4 separate regions of the Homo sapiens genome follow, and regions 2, 3 and 4 are each linked to region 1. Evidence: promoter capture Hi-C in 16 types of primary human blood cells and fetal thymus (Javierre and others, 2016). All regions are on one chromosome and are shown on one strand. The core of a region is centred on a gene start or on the middle of the fragment in contact, and the rest is flanking DNA. Distances in the headings are between cores, read along the strand shown. Region 1 holds the start of PNPLA3 (patatin like domain 3, 1-acylglycerol-3-phosphate O-acyltransferase). Region 2 has its middle 5.1 kb from the start of PRR5. Region 3 overlaps LOC124905132 (a long non-coding RNA gene). Region 4 overlaps LINC00229 (long intergenic non-protein coding RNA 229).

Region 1 (2,632 bases), core at 42-2,541:
GGAGGAGGAGGAGGAAACAACTTTCCTCTTTCAAGGTACCCCTCCCCACTAGACTCCAGTTAGCCTGCCCTGGAGGATGCCCAGGGTTGCCCTTCTGGGAGGCTACCCAGCCCCCAGAAGGCTGGGCTGCGACCCAGAGAGCGTAGGCAGCAGGGAGCAGTGGCTCACGCCTGTAACCCCAGCATTCTGGGAGGCCGAGGTGGGCAGATCACGAGGTCAGGAGATCGAGACCATCCTGGCTAACACGGTGAAACCCCGTCTCTACTAAAAAATACAAAAAATTAGCCGGGCTTGGTGGCTGGCGCCTGTAGTCCCAGCTACTCGGGAGGCTGAGGCAGGAGAATGGCGTGAACCTGGGAGGTGGAGCTTGCAGTGAGTTGAGATCACGCCACTGCACTCCAGCCTGGGCGACTGAGCGAAACTCCGTCTCAAAAAAAAAAAAAGAAAAAAAGAAAAGAAAAGCGCAGGCGCGGGGTGTCTTGAGTCCCTCAATCCCCAGAGGGAAGGAGCCCACCGTGGGGGACCGGCCAAAGCCCCACTCTTTGTCCGGCCCAGGGCAAATCGGCCCCTCGGCAGCTCAGCCCGTCCAGCCCCTCCCGAGAGGACACAGGGGACCCGGAGTCCGCAGGGGCCAGCACTACCCTCCGCCCCGGGTCCCGCTCCCTACTCCCCGTCGCTCCGAGACGCTCCGACTCTCAGTCCGGAGGTGAGGGTCTCCCTTCATGCACGGGCGCCTGATGGGGGTAGGGGTGGGGACGCACGAGAGTCCCAGGCTTCGGCCCGGACCGCTCGGGGTTCCAACGCCCCCTTCCCGGGCCCAGGAACAGCGCCCCCGCAGGAAGCATCTGCCTCGGAGGGGGCCCTCGGGATGCACCCCGCCGTGTCCGCGTCCGATGCCCGCTCCTCCAGGGCCCCGCGACCCCTGGGGATCCCCCGCTCCCCGGCCTAGGGGGCACCCACTCCGCACGTGGAGCCCGGGCAGCGTCCCCAGACGCACCCAGCGGGATACCGGAGAGGACGCCGACGCAGTGCAACGCCCCGGCCGAAGCGCCGAACAACATGCGCGCGTCGCGGAGGAGGTGCGGGGCGTGCTCGCTCAGGCAGCGGGTCGCCCCGACGTGGTAGAAGCCCAGGAAGCCGCAGCCCGCGAAGGACAAGCTCCAGCCGCGCTCTGCGTCGTACATGGCGGCGGCGGCGGGGCGGGGGCGCGGGTTAGGATCTGGGTCGGGATCGGGAATCGGCTCGGGTCCTGATCCGCAGCAGCTCCGCCCGGCGCCCGCAAGCGCTCTCTACCCTGCCTCAGTGTCTCGGCCAGGGCATTCCCAGCGCGACGTCAGCCCCGCCCCCCTCGGACCATGCAAATGAGCCGGCGGGAGGCCCAATGAGCGGGCAGGACGCCCTCCCGGGCGGGGCTTGGAGGGGGATGGGGGTGGGGACGACGTCTGGCGGGGGATGGGGGCGGGGACCGGGTCTGGGAGGGGGATTGGGGGCGGGGGCTGGGAGGGCGATGGCGGAGGACCTGTGCGGGGGGGTCCAGCCTGGGAGCTCCCCGCAGCGACTCGAGAGAAAGCATTTTTCCAAAACTCCAGCAGACACTGCATGTCCTGGAGAGAAACGGCTTCCTTCTGTTTTCCTTGACATCTGTTAAGTCGGGGGGTGGGAGGGGAGTCGCAGTTGGTGCCCACTTGATCCTTAACATCACTTTAACACTTTATCACGTCCCTTTTGACCCGGGGAGAGCCAGCCTAAAGCAGGCACCACCACCTGAAGAGTCTACTCTCTGCGTTGTTGCAGGCTTTCTGTATGATTGCCTTCAAGTGCTGGGGATTTTTTTCATTGAATGAAAGTAACAGGAAGTGTCCATTTCAAAGTTTCCTTTGTAAGTAAAAAATGTGAATGACGGGTGCTGGGGCTGGGGTCGGGGCCCTGTAGGAACTGGGGAGTGGGGAGTGCTTTGGGAAGCTGAGGCCTGGATGATTCCTGGTCCCTTAGTCCCTTAGTCCGTTCAGGTGCGAAAACAAAACACCTTAAAGCGGAGGGGCTTACAAACAAGAGATTTATTTCTATCTTTTTCCCCCCAGGCTGGAGTGCAATGGCACGATCTTGGCCCACTGCAGCCTCTTCCTCCCGGGTTCAAGGGATTCTCCTGCCTCAGCCTCACGAGTAGCTGGGATTACAAGCATGCGCCACCATGCCTGACTAATTTTTTGTATTTTTAGTAGAGATGGGGTTTCACCATGTTGGCCAGGCTAGTCTAGAACTCCTGACCTCAAGTCATCACCCACCTCAGCCTCCCAAAATGCTGGGATTACAGGGGTGAGCCACTTCGCCTGGCTTATTTCTCTGTCTCACAGTTCTGGAGGCTGGAAAGCCCAAGTTCAAGATACCAGCAGATTTGGTCCCTGGTGAGAGGTATGGCTCGTAGAAGGTGCCATCTTGCCACATCCTCACCTCTGGGCCTCTTTGATAAGGGCACCAATCCCATTCATAAGGGTGCCACCCTCTCATCAAATCACCTTCCAAAGGCCCCCGCCTCCAAAGATCATCACCTTAAGGTGTAGGATTTCAACAGATGACCTTTAGTGGGGACACAAACATTTGGATAGTAGCATGCCCTTAGGAGATGCCTAAG
Region 2 (2,632 bases), core at 37-2,536, 770 kb before region 1:
ACCTCTGCTCCAGACTCATTCACACAACCCCAAAGCCACCAGAGCCACCCCTGCTCCAGACTCATTCACACATCCCCAAAGCCACCAGAGTGGCCCCTGCTCCAGGAAGGTGCCAGGCCCGATGGCATCAACCACGTCCTCTCCTCCCCAGGACCCAAACTCATTCCAAACTCCCCCTGGCCAGTGGGGTGTCGGCAGCTGGTAGAGGATCCCCTTGGTCACCAAGGGGGACCCTGATATCCTCAGAACTACCCTTCTGAAGGGCCTGCAATCCCTAAGCCTGGCTCAGCCCCGGCTGGACACCCAGGGGACAGGAACAGACCAGTAAGTCAGGGCAGCTCATGAACCCGGGACTCTGAGTTCTAGTCCATCAGCACTGCAAGTGACATCATGATCTCTGGGACACAGGCCAGCCAAAGGGAGGAGACAGCATACCCCTGAAGGGGCCAGTTTGGGGCCCAGGGAGGGGTACTATAGGCATGATACAGGGGCGGCCACTAAACACACTGCCCCGACTCGTCCCCACAAGGCTGCCAAGTGGGAGACCAGTCCCATTTTACAGACAGACAAACAGAGGCCCAGGGAGGCCGAGGCGTATGTCCGAGGTCAGAGTCAGCAAGTGGGGGAGCTGAGGCTGGAGCCCTGCGGGCTGGGCGGGAGAGAGAGACAGCCTCCATCTCGCCCACTCTCCCCGGGGCACGGCCCTCAGGTGGTGACCTCAGTTGCCCACGCCCTGCCTGCTTTCCTAGGCACTGCCTGCTCTGGAGGGGCACGTCCGCCCCCTGGTGGCGAAGCCTGGTGTTCCCTCAAAGCCGACCCAAAAGTGCCTTCTGCCCCCTGAGGAGCAGCCTGGTCAGTCCCGGACACCCTGGAAGAGGCCTGGCAACGTGCTGGGCACGGAAAGCCATGGGGAGTGCCTGGCTCTGTCCCCACAGTCTCTGCCATCCGGGCCGTCCCATCCCTTCCCTGAGATGGGCGAGAAGGGTGACACCACTGCCCTGTGAGGGCACAGAAAAAATCCACACACAGTCACAGGGGCACGCCAAGGGCTTGGTGACCGCCGCCAGGGTGGTCGCACGGCAGAAGGAGGTTCCTGAGTCAGGGCCACCACGCTGGGGGAGCCCAGGGTACTCGCGGTGACTCCGGCACCAAGCACCAGGCCACCGGACCTGGTGGCCTTGGAGCCAGGATCAACTGTTATTATTCCCATTTCACGACTGGGGAAACTGAGGCTGTGTGGGGAACACAGCAAGGAACAAGAAAGACATGGTCCCTGCTACCAGAAGGTGAGCCCATCGTCCCTTCCTAGCTCTGCCATCTGATATGTTCATGTCCTGGCCGGGTGTGGTGGCTCACGCCTGTGATCCCAGTACTTTAGGAGGCTGAGGCCAGTGGATCACCTGAGGTCAGGAGTTGGAGACTACCCTGGCTAACATGGTGAAACCCTGTCTCTACTAAAAATACAAAAATTAGCCGGATATGGTGGTGCACACCTGTAGTCCCAGCTACTAGGGAGGCTGAGGCAGGAGAATCGCTCGAACCCTGGAAGCGGAGTTTACAGTGAGCCAAGATCGTGCCACTGCACTCTAGCCTGGGCGACAGAGCAGGACTGCATCTCAAATAAATAAATAAATAAATAAATAAATAAATACGTAAGTTCATGTCTTCCTTGGTCCCACAGCAGCCTTGAGGTTTGAAGGTGGACCGCTTCCTTTAAGTCTTCTCTTGACCAGCTGAGCTACCAGGACTCCATCTGAGCCCTTCTCCACCCTGGTGGTCTGGTTCTGTGCACCCAAGACACGTGCCCTCCTTTTGTTCTGGATTTCAGTTCTAGGGGCCGGGGAGGGGGCTCTGGCCAGCAGGTCCCTGGTCTTAATACACCAGACGTCACACATGCACCTGCATAAGATTCTCTCTCCAAGCCACCTTCCCACCTGTCAGCCAGGTCTTGAACACCAATCGGTTTCCAAAGTCTCTTCTGGGGCAGGTGTTTTATAACCTGATTCTAGTCTCTCAATAGGTGCCTCTGTGGTATAAGGAGGTGACTGTCCAAGCTCGAGGATGGCATTGCAGAGACAGGTTTTGGAATCTCCCAAACTGGGTCTGCCCTCAGCTCTGCCACCTCCTTTGTGTCAAAGTTGTCAGAATTGGCTGGACGCGGTGGCTCATGCCTGTTATGCCAGCACTTTGGGAGGCTGAGGCGGGTGGATCACCTGAGGTCAGGAATTCCAGACCAGCCTGGCCAACATGGTGAAACCCCATCTCTACTAAAAATACAAAAATTAGCCAAGTGTGGTGGTGTGTGCCTGTAATCCCAGCTACTCAGGAGGCTGAGGCAGGAAAATCACTTAAACCTGGGAGGTGGAGGTTTCAGTGACTGTGCCATTGCACTCCAGCCTGGGTGACAGAGAGGGACTCTGTATCAAAAAAAAAAAAAAAAAAAAAAAAAGTTGTCAGAATCAAAATGGAATCACTTGTGTTTAAAAAAACCCTGACAGGCTGGGCGCACTTTGGGAGACCGAGATGGGTGGATCACTTGAGGTCAGGGGTTCGAGACCAGCCTAGTCAACATGGTGAAACCCTGTCTCTACTAAAAATACAAAAAAATTAGCTGGGCATGTTGGTGTGCATC
Region 3 (2,632 bases), core at 65-2,564, 740 kb before region 1:
CTGTCCCGGGGATCGGGGTCCAGCCGCGGGCGGAGCGGGGAGGGAGGGGAAGACGAATGGGCCTGGCACCAAAAACAGCCCAGGGCTGTGGTTCTCAAAGTGTGGCCTCCGTTAGTGCAGAGTCCCTGGCCCCACCCCGGACCTACAGAAGCAAAACTCGGGGTTGGGCCCCCTATTTTAACAAGCCTTCTGGGTGGTTCCAGAGTTCAGTAAAGTTTGAGAAGAACTGCCCTGGTGGAAACATCCAGCACCCCACATCCTGCACCCCACAACCCACATCCCACACCCCAGTGTCTCGAAAAGGGCTTCTTTTCACTCTTCACTTAAACAGCCTCACCCTGTTTAAGTACCTCTCCGTTGGTACGTGGCTGTGGTGGGGGCAGTGGGCGGGGAGCAGTGGTGTCTGTCCCAGGAATCCCCGAAAGGATTGACAGTCAGTGCCTGGTAGAAGCCGCAAGTCCTGTACCAGAGGCCAGGCTGTGGGCATTCGGGCGGTGATGGTTATGGTTATTGTGTTTTGGTGTAGTGATTGTTTTAATGTTTTAGAATGCAATTGTGCAAATATTTGTGTCCATATTCAGTTGTAAAGCTTTTTTTTTCCCCTTCCATCATTGTGCTTGTTTGACGCTAAGCCACTCATCCCCCAGAAACAGTGTTGACATGAGGCAGATCAGATGGCCGGCCTTCCTGGTGACCAGATTTCAGGACAGCAAGCATCCCGGCCAGACCCCAGGTACTCTAATGGGGTCCATAGGGCCCTGGGAGTGAGCAGCTCTGCCTGAACTGCAGGATGGGGCATCCTAGAGGGAGGAGAGGGCATCTGGACAGAGGGGCCTAAAGTGTCTGGGTGGCATCTAGACTGGGCAGACAGTGCCTGGATCGAGTACTGGGGTGGGGCTGGAAACGGCCCAAGAGGTGCCAGAAGGAGGTGGAGCTGTTCTGAGCCCCGTGCTGCCAAGAGGGATGTCCTGGCCTTGGAGGGACCTTTGAGGTCATCTAATCCAGCCTCTTGGTGTGTGACCACTAGGACCTCCCCCACTTCTAATTAAACTTTCCTTCTTTCTTTCTTTTTTTTTTTTCTTGAGACCGAGTCTCGCTCTGTTACCCAGGCTGGAGTGCAGTGGTGCCATCTTGGCTCATTGCAACCTCTGCCTCCTGATTTCGAGTGGTTCTCCTGCTTCAGCCTCCTGAGTAGCTGGGGCTACAGGTGCCTGCCACCATGCCCGACTAATTTTTGTATTTTTAGTAGAGACAGGGTTTCACTATGTTGGCCAGGCTGGTCTCAAACTCCTGACCTCAGGTGATCCACCCGCCTGGGCCTCCCAAAATCCTGGGATTACAGGTGTGAGGCAGCACGCCCAGCCTAAACTTTCTTATTTTGAGATAATTGTAGATTCACATGCAGCTATAAGAAACAGTAGAGATGTCTTGGACCCAGTTTTCTCCACTGGTAAAATCTTGCAAAATTATACTACAATATCACAACCAGGATATTGACATAGATGCCATCAAGGTACAGAACATTCCATCAGCAAAGGACCCCCCCGTGGACTTTTTATGTGCTTATCTCCCTCCCTCCTCCCTCCTGGCAAGCACTTATCTGTTCTCCATTTCTGTAATTTTATCATTTCAAGCATGTTATATAAATGCAGTCATACAGTATGTTACCTTTTGAGATTGCTTTTTTCACTCAGCATAAATCCCTGAAGATTCTTCCAGGTTGCTTTGTGTTTCAGTAGTTTGTTCCTTGCTATTGTGGAGTGGTCAGCATTCCATGGAATGGGTGCATCATAATTTGTTTAGCCATTCACTTGTCGAAGACTATCTGGGTTGATTGCCAGTTTGGGGCTATTACCAATAAAGCTGCTATAAACATTTGTGTACAGGTTTTTGTGTGAACATAAGTTTTCATTTGTCTGGGAAGAGTGCCCAGGAGTGTAATTGCTGGGTCGTATGGGAGTTGCATGTTTAGATTTTTAAGAAACTGCCAAAATGTTTTCCAGAGTGTACCACTTTGCCTTCCCAGCAGCAAAGCTTGAGTGATCCAGTTTCTCTGCATCCCTACCAGCATTTCGTCTTGTCCCTGTGTTTTATTTTTGCCATGCTGATAGGTGTGTAGTGAGATCTCATGGTTTTAATTTGCCTTCCTCTAACGACTATTGATGTTAAAGATTCAAAACGATCTTGAGAGCTTATTTACCATCTGTAAATCCTATGAGTGGTAGGTGTGTTCATGTCTTTTGCCTATTTTCTAATTGGATTTTTTTTTTAAAAAATGTTCATTAAATTTCTTTCTCTCTCTCTCTCTCTCTCTCTCTCTCTCTCTCTCCCTCTCTCTCTTTTTTTTTTTTTTTTTGATGGAGTTTCACTCTTGTTGCCCAACCTGGAGTGCAGTGGCACAATCTTGGCTCACTGCAACCTCTGCCTCCTGGGTTCAAGCGATTCTCCTGCCTCAGCCTCCCGAGCAGCTGGGATTACAGGCGCGCGCCACCACATCTGGCTAATTTTTTGTATTTTTAGTGGAGACAGGGTTTCACTATGTTAGCTAGGCTGGTCTTGAACTCCTGACCTCAGGTGATCCTCCCACCTCGGCCTCCCAAAATGTTGGGATTGCAGGCGTGAGCCACGGCGC
Region 4 (2,632 bases), core at 95-2,594, 680 kb before region 1:
GCTTGGAGGCAGGGTGTAAGGAGACCTGCCTCCAGGTAGGAGGGAGGGGAAGGGAGGGAAGCCACAAGCTGCATGTGGCCGGAGGGGGTGAGGGTGCGAGGCAGGGAGGCCGGCCAGGTGGGTGCAGAGGGGCAGCAGGATGTGGGGGCTCCTGATGACACTGTCCTGTCTCTGCCCTCAGAGGCTCTGCTGCTCATGTTCATGGAGTCCCACGTCCACCAGGCCCTTTGAATCTCGAGTTTCTGGCTTCAGATGCCCCCAGGTTTCCAGAAGTCAAGATTTCTAACAAATGGACCCAAACCCCAAGCCAGCACCTGGAAGTGGCAGCAACACGGCTGTGTGGACCCCGGTGCTGGGAACCTTCTGGAGGCAGCTGGACACAGGGGCTGCCAGTGTGGAGAGGGACGCTGCTCATTTTGACATTTCATCTGAATAACGTTCCAAGTGTTCTAATGAAAGCCTCTGCGCTCCCTTTGAAATACTAGCAATTACAAAGATGAATAATTGCATGATAAATATTAATTTGCACCATCGTAATGAGGCCCAGAAGCATCCTGCTGCTAAGTGAGAATTTAGCTCTTTCCCCTCCCGGGCAGGGGAGGTGCTGCTCACAGCCCCTGGGGGATGCTGCCCTGCTCTGAGAGGCCCAGTACCACCGTGGCCAGCTCGCTGGGCGGGACAACGGCAAGCCCGAGCACCACCCTGCTCCTGCCACTACCTCGCTTGATGACAAAGGGCACATTGCTTCCTTCCTCTGGGCATTGTCTATTTGAGTTTTCCAAATAGACAATGGCGAAATTGGGTGAGATGACCTCTAAGGGCTCTGCCAACTCAGGCAGTCCAGGAGGTGACATCTAGAATTCCAGACTGCCTGTGGTCTACTGGTGGGAAATCCACCCCGTCCAGAGCCTCCCCTCCAGGCGCCCTCTCTCTGGGTGCTCCCGCTCTGCCTGGCATCTGGGAGACGAGCGGGTATTTGCTGAATGAAAAGCGATATCCCTTTGCCCAGAAACAGCATCTCACAGCTTTTCTTCCTTGGTCTTCACGAAATCAAAACTGACAAGTTGCCCTCCTTCCAGCTGAGTAAGTGTGGCCATCACACCCCACCCTCAGGAAGGAGGAAAAAGTGGCAGCTTGCAGCAGAGATGGAACATCCCCAAACCACAGTGACAGCACAAAGGGCTGCCTGTCTGGTTCCAGTCCCCCAAGTAAAGGACACCTGGAGTCTTCGCAGAGGCCGCTGCTTCCCCTAACGGCCCTGCCTTTTGGCGCTGAGTGTCTGCAGACCTTTGGCAACCTTTGCAAATATCATCCTCACAGAGGAGAGCTGCACCTCTTCCATCTTAAGCAGTGAACCCAGGATGCTTGGCGATCTTGGGGCTTGTTTTTTCCTCTAAACACCTGCTGTGTGTTTTATTGGGCAAGCCGTCCTTTCTGCGTCTGGGCTCCCTTGAGTCTGCAAACCTTCTTCTCTGAGTATCGTCCACTGCTGGATCTGATCCTCTGGCAAGGATCAGATTCCCCCTGTCTGCCACCCAGCAGGGAGCATGCGGGGCCACCGAAGGCACTTCCCCCAGAAATACAGCAGCCAGGCTCCAGTCAGGGGCAAACATGTCAGAAACCACACACACACACACGCACACACGCTACATGCCCATGAGGCTGAGGCTCCAGACCATGGGGCTGTGTGTGTGGCCTCAGAAGTGCATCTTGTGGGCTCTCTGTGCCCTCATGCCCCTCCTCCCCAGGGTGGACTCATGCAGCAAGAGAAGGGCTGTGTATGTGTGTATGTGTGTGTGTGTGTGGTATCTGTGTGGTATATGGTGTGTGTGTGTGTGGTGTGTGTGTGTTTGATGTGTGTGTGATGTGTGATGTGTGTGTGGTGTGTATGTGATATGTGGTGTGTGTGTGCAGGGTGTGTGTGGTGTACGATGTATGTGGTACATGGTGTGTGTGTGTGACATGTGATATGTGGCACATGGTTTGTGGTGTGTGGCATGGGATGTGTGTATGGTATATGTGTGCTATATGGTATGTGTGTGGTATATGTGTGTGGTGCATGTGTGTGTAATGTGTGGTGTATGGTGTGTGTGGTGTATGTGTGTGATATGTGGTGTGTGGCCTGTGGTGTGTGCGTGGTGTATGTGTGTATGGTGTATGTGGTGTGTGCATGTGATATGTGGTGTGTGCCATGTGATGTGTGTGGTGTGTGTATGGTGTATGTGGTGTATGTGTGTGACATGTGTGGTATGTGATGTGTGTGGTGTGTGTATGATGTATGTGGTGTATGTGTGTGATATGTGGCATGTACCACGTGTGTGTGTGTATGTGTGTGGTTTCTGACACGTGCCTCTGGAGCCCGGCTGCTGCATTTCTGGGGGAAGCGGCTTCAGTGCACCCCCCGGGCTCCCTGCTGGGTGGCAGACACGGGGAATCTGGGCCTTTTTGTTTTTTGCCTGTGTGGGTCTGTTTGCCTTGAGGATCCTGCTATCTTCAGCATTAGCAACACCCACCGCTTGATCATGGGTCCCAAGATTCTGGTTTGGTCGGCTCGAGGGCCGCCCGTCCTGACCGTGGGCTTGGGAGGGCGCCCCGGTCTCATCCTCACCACCTGTGTATATTGTGTGTCTTT

The links. Contacts are between HindIII fragments. The CHiCAGO score rates a contact against its expected background, and 5 or more counts as called.
Region 2: a contact is called between a fragment that was not itself captured here and the fragment with the promoter of PNPLA3 in region 1, in 1 of 17 cell types (monocytes). The highest score is 5.2, in monocytes.
Region 3: a fragment that was not itself captured here is called in contact with the fragment with the promoter of PNPLA3 in region 1 in 3 of 17 cell types (M1 macrophages, M0 macrophages and erythroblasts); the score reaches 8.0 in M1 macrophages.
Region 4: a contact is called between a fragment that was not itself captured here and the fragment with the promoter of PNPLA3 in region 1, in 1 of 17 cell types (fetal thymus). The highest score is 5.5, in fetal thymus.

The regions. Positions count from the first base shown.
Region 1 is chr22:43,922,464-43,925,095 of GRCh38, reverse strand. It overlaps PNPLA3 (patatin like domain 3, 1-acylglycerol-3-phosphate O-acyltransferase), which reads right to left and starts at 1,291. Exons shown (of 9, transcript NM_025225.3): 1 at 998-1,291. The coding sequence starts at 1,184. RefSeq lists enhancers at 1-731, 732-1,476. The HindIII fragment of the contact is 6,907 bases long and covers 1-2,632 here.
Region 2 is chr22:44,695,741-44,698,372 of GRCh38, reverse strand. It overlaps a transcript of PRR5 not described here. Among named protein-coding and RNA genes, the nearest start is that of PRR5, 5.1 kb to the left of the region's middle. The HindIII fragment of the contact is 4,492 bases long and covers 1-2,632 here.
Region 3 is chr22:44,665,685-44,668,316 of GRCh38, reverse strand. It overlaps LOC124905132 (a long non-coding RNA gene), which reads left to right. Exons shown (of 3, transcript XR_007068127.1): 2 at 648-733. Among named protein-coding and RNA genes, the nearest start is that of PRR5, 35 kb to the left of the region's middle. The HindIII fragment of the contact is 1,445 bases long and covers 592-2,036 here.
Region 4 is chr22:44,604,195-44,606,826 of GRCh38, reverse strand. It overlaps LINC00229 (long intergenic non-protein coding RNA 229), which reads left to right. Exons shown (of 5, transcript NR_044991.1): 5 at 182-499. Among named protein-coding and RNA genes, the nearest start is that of LINC00229, 20 kb to the left of the region's middle. The HindIII fragment of the contact is 4,678 bases long and covers 1-2,632 here.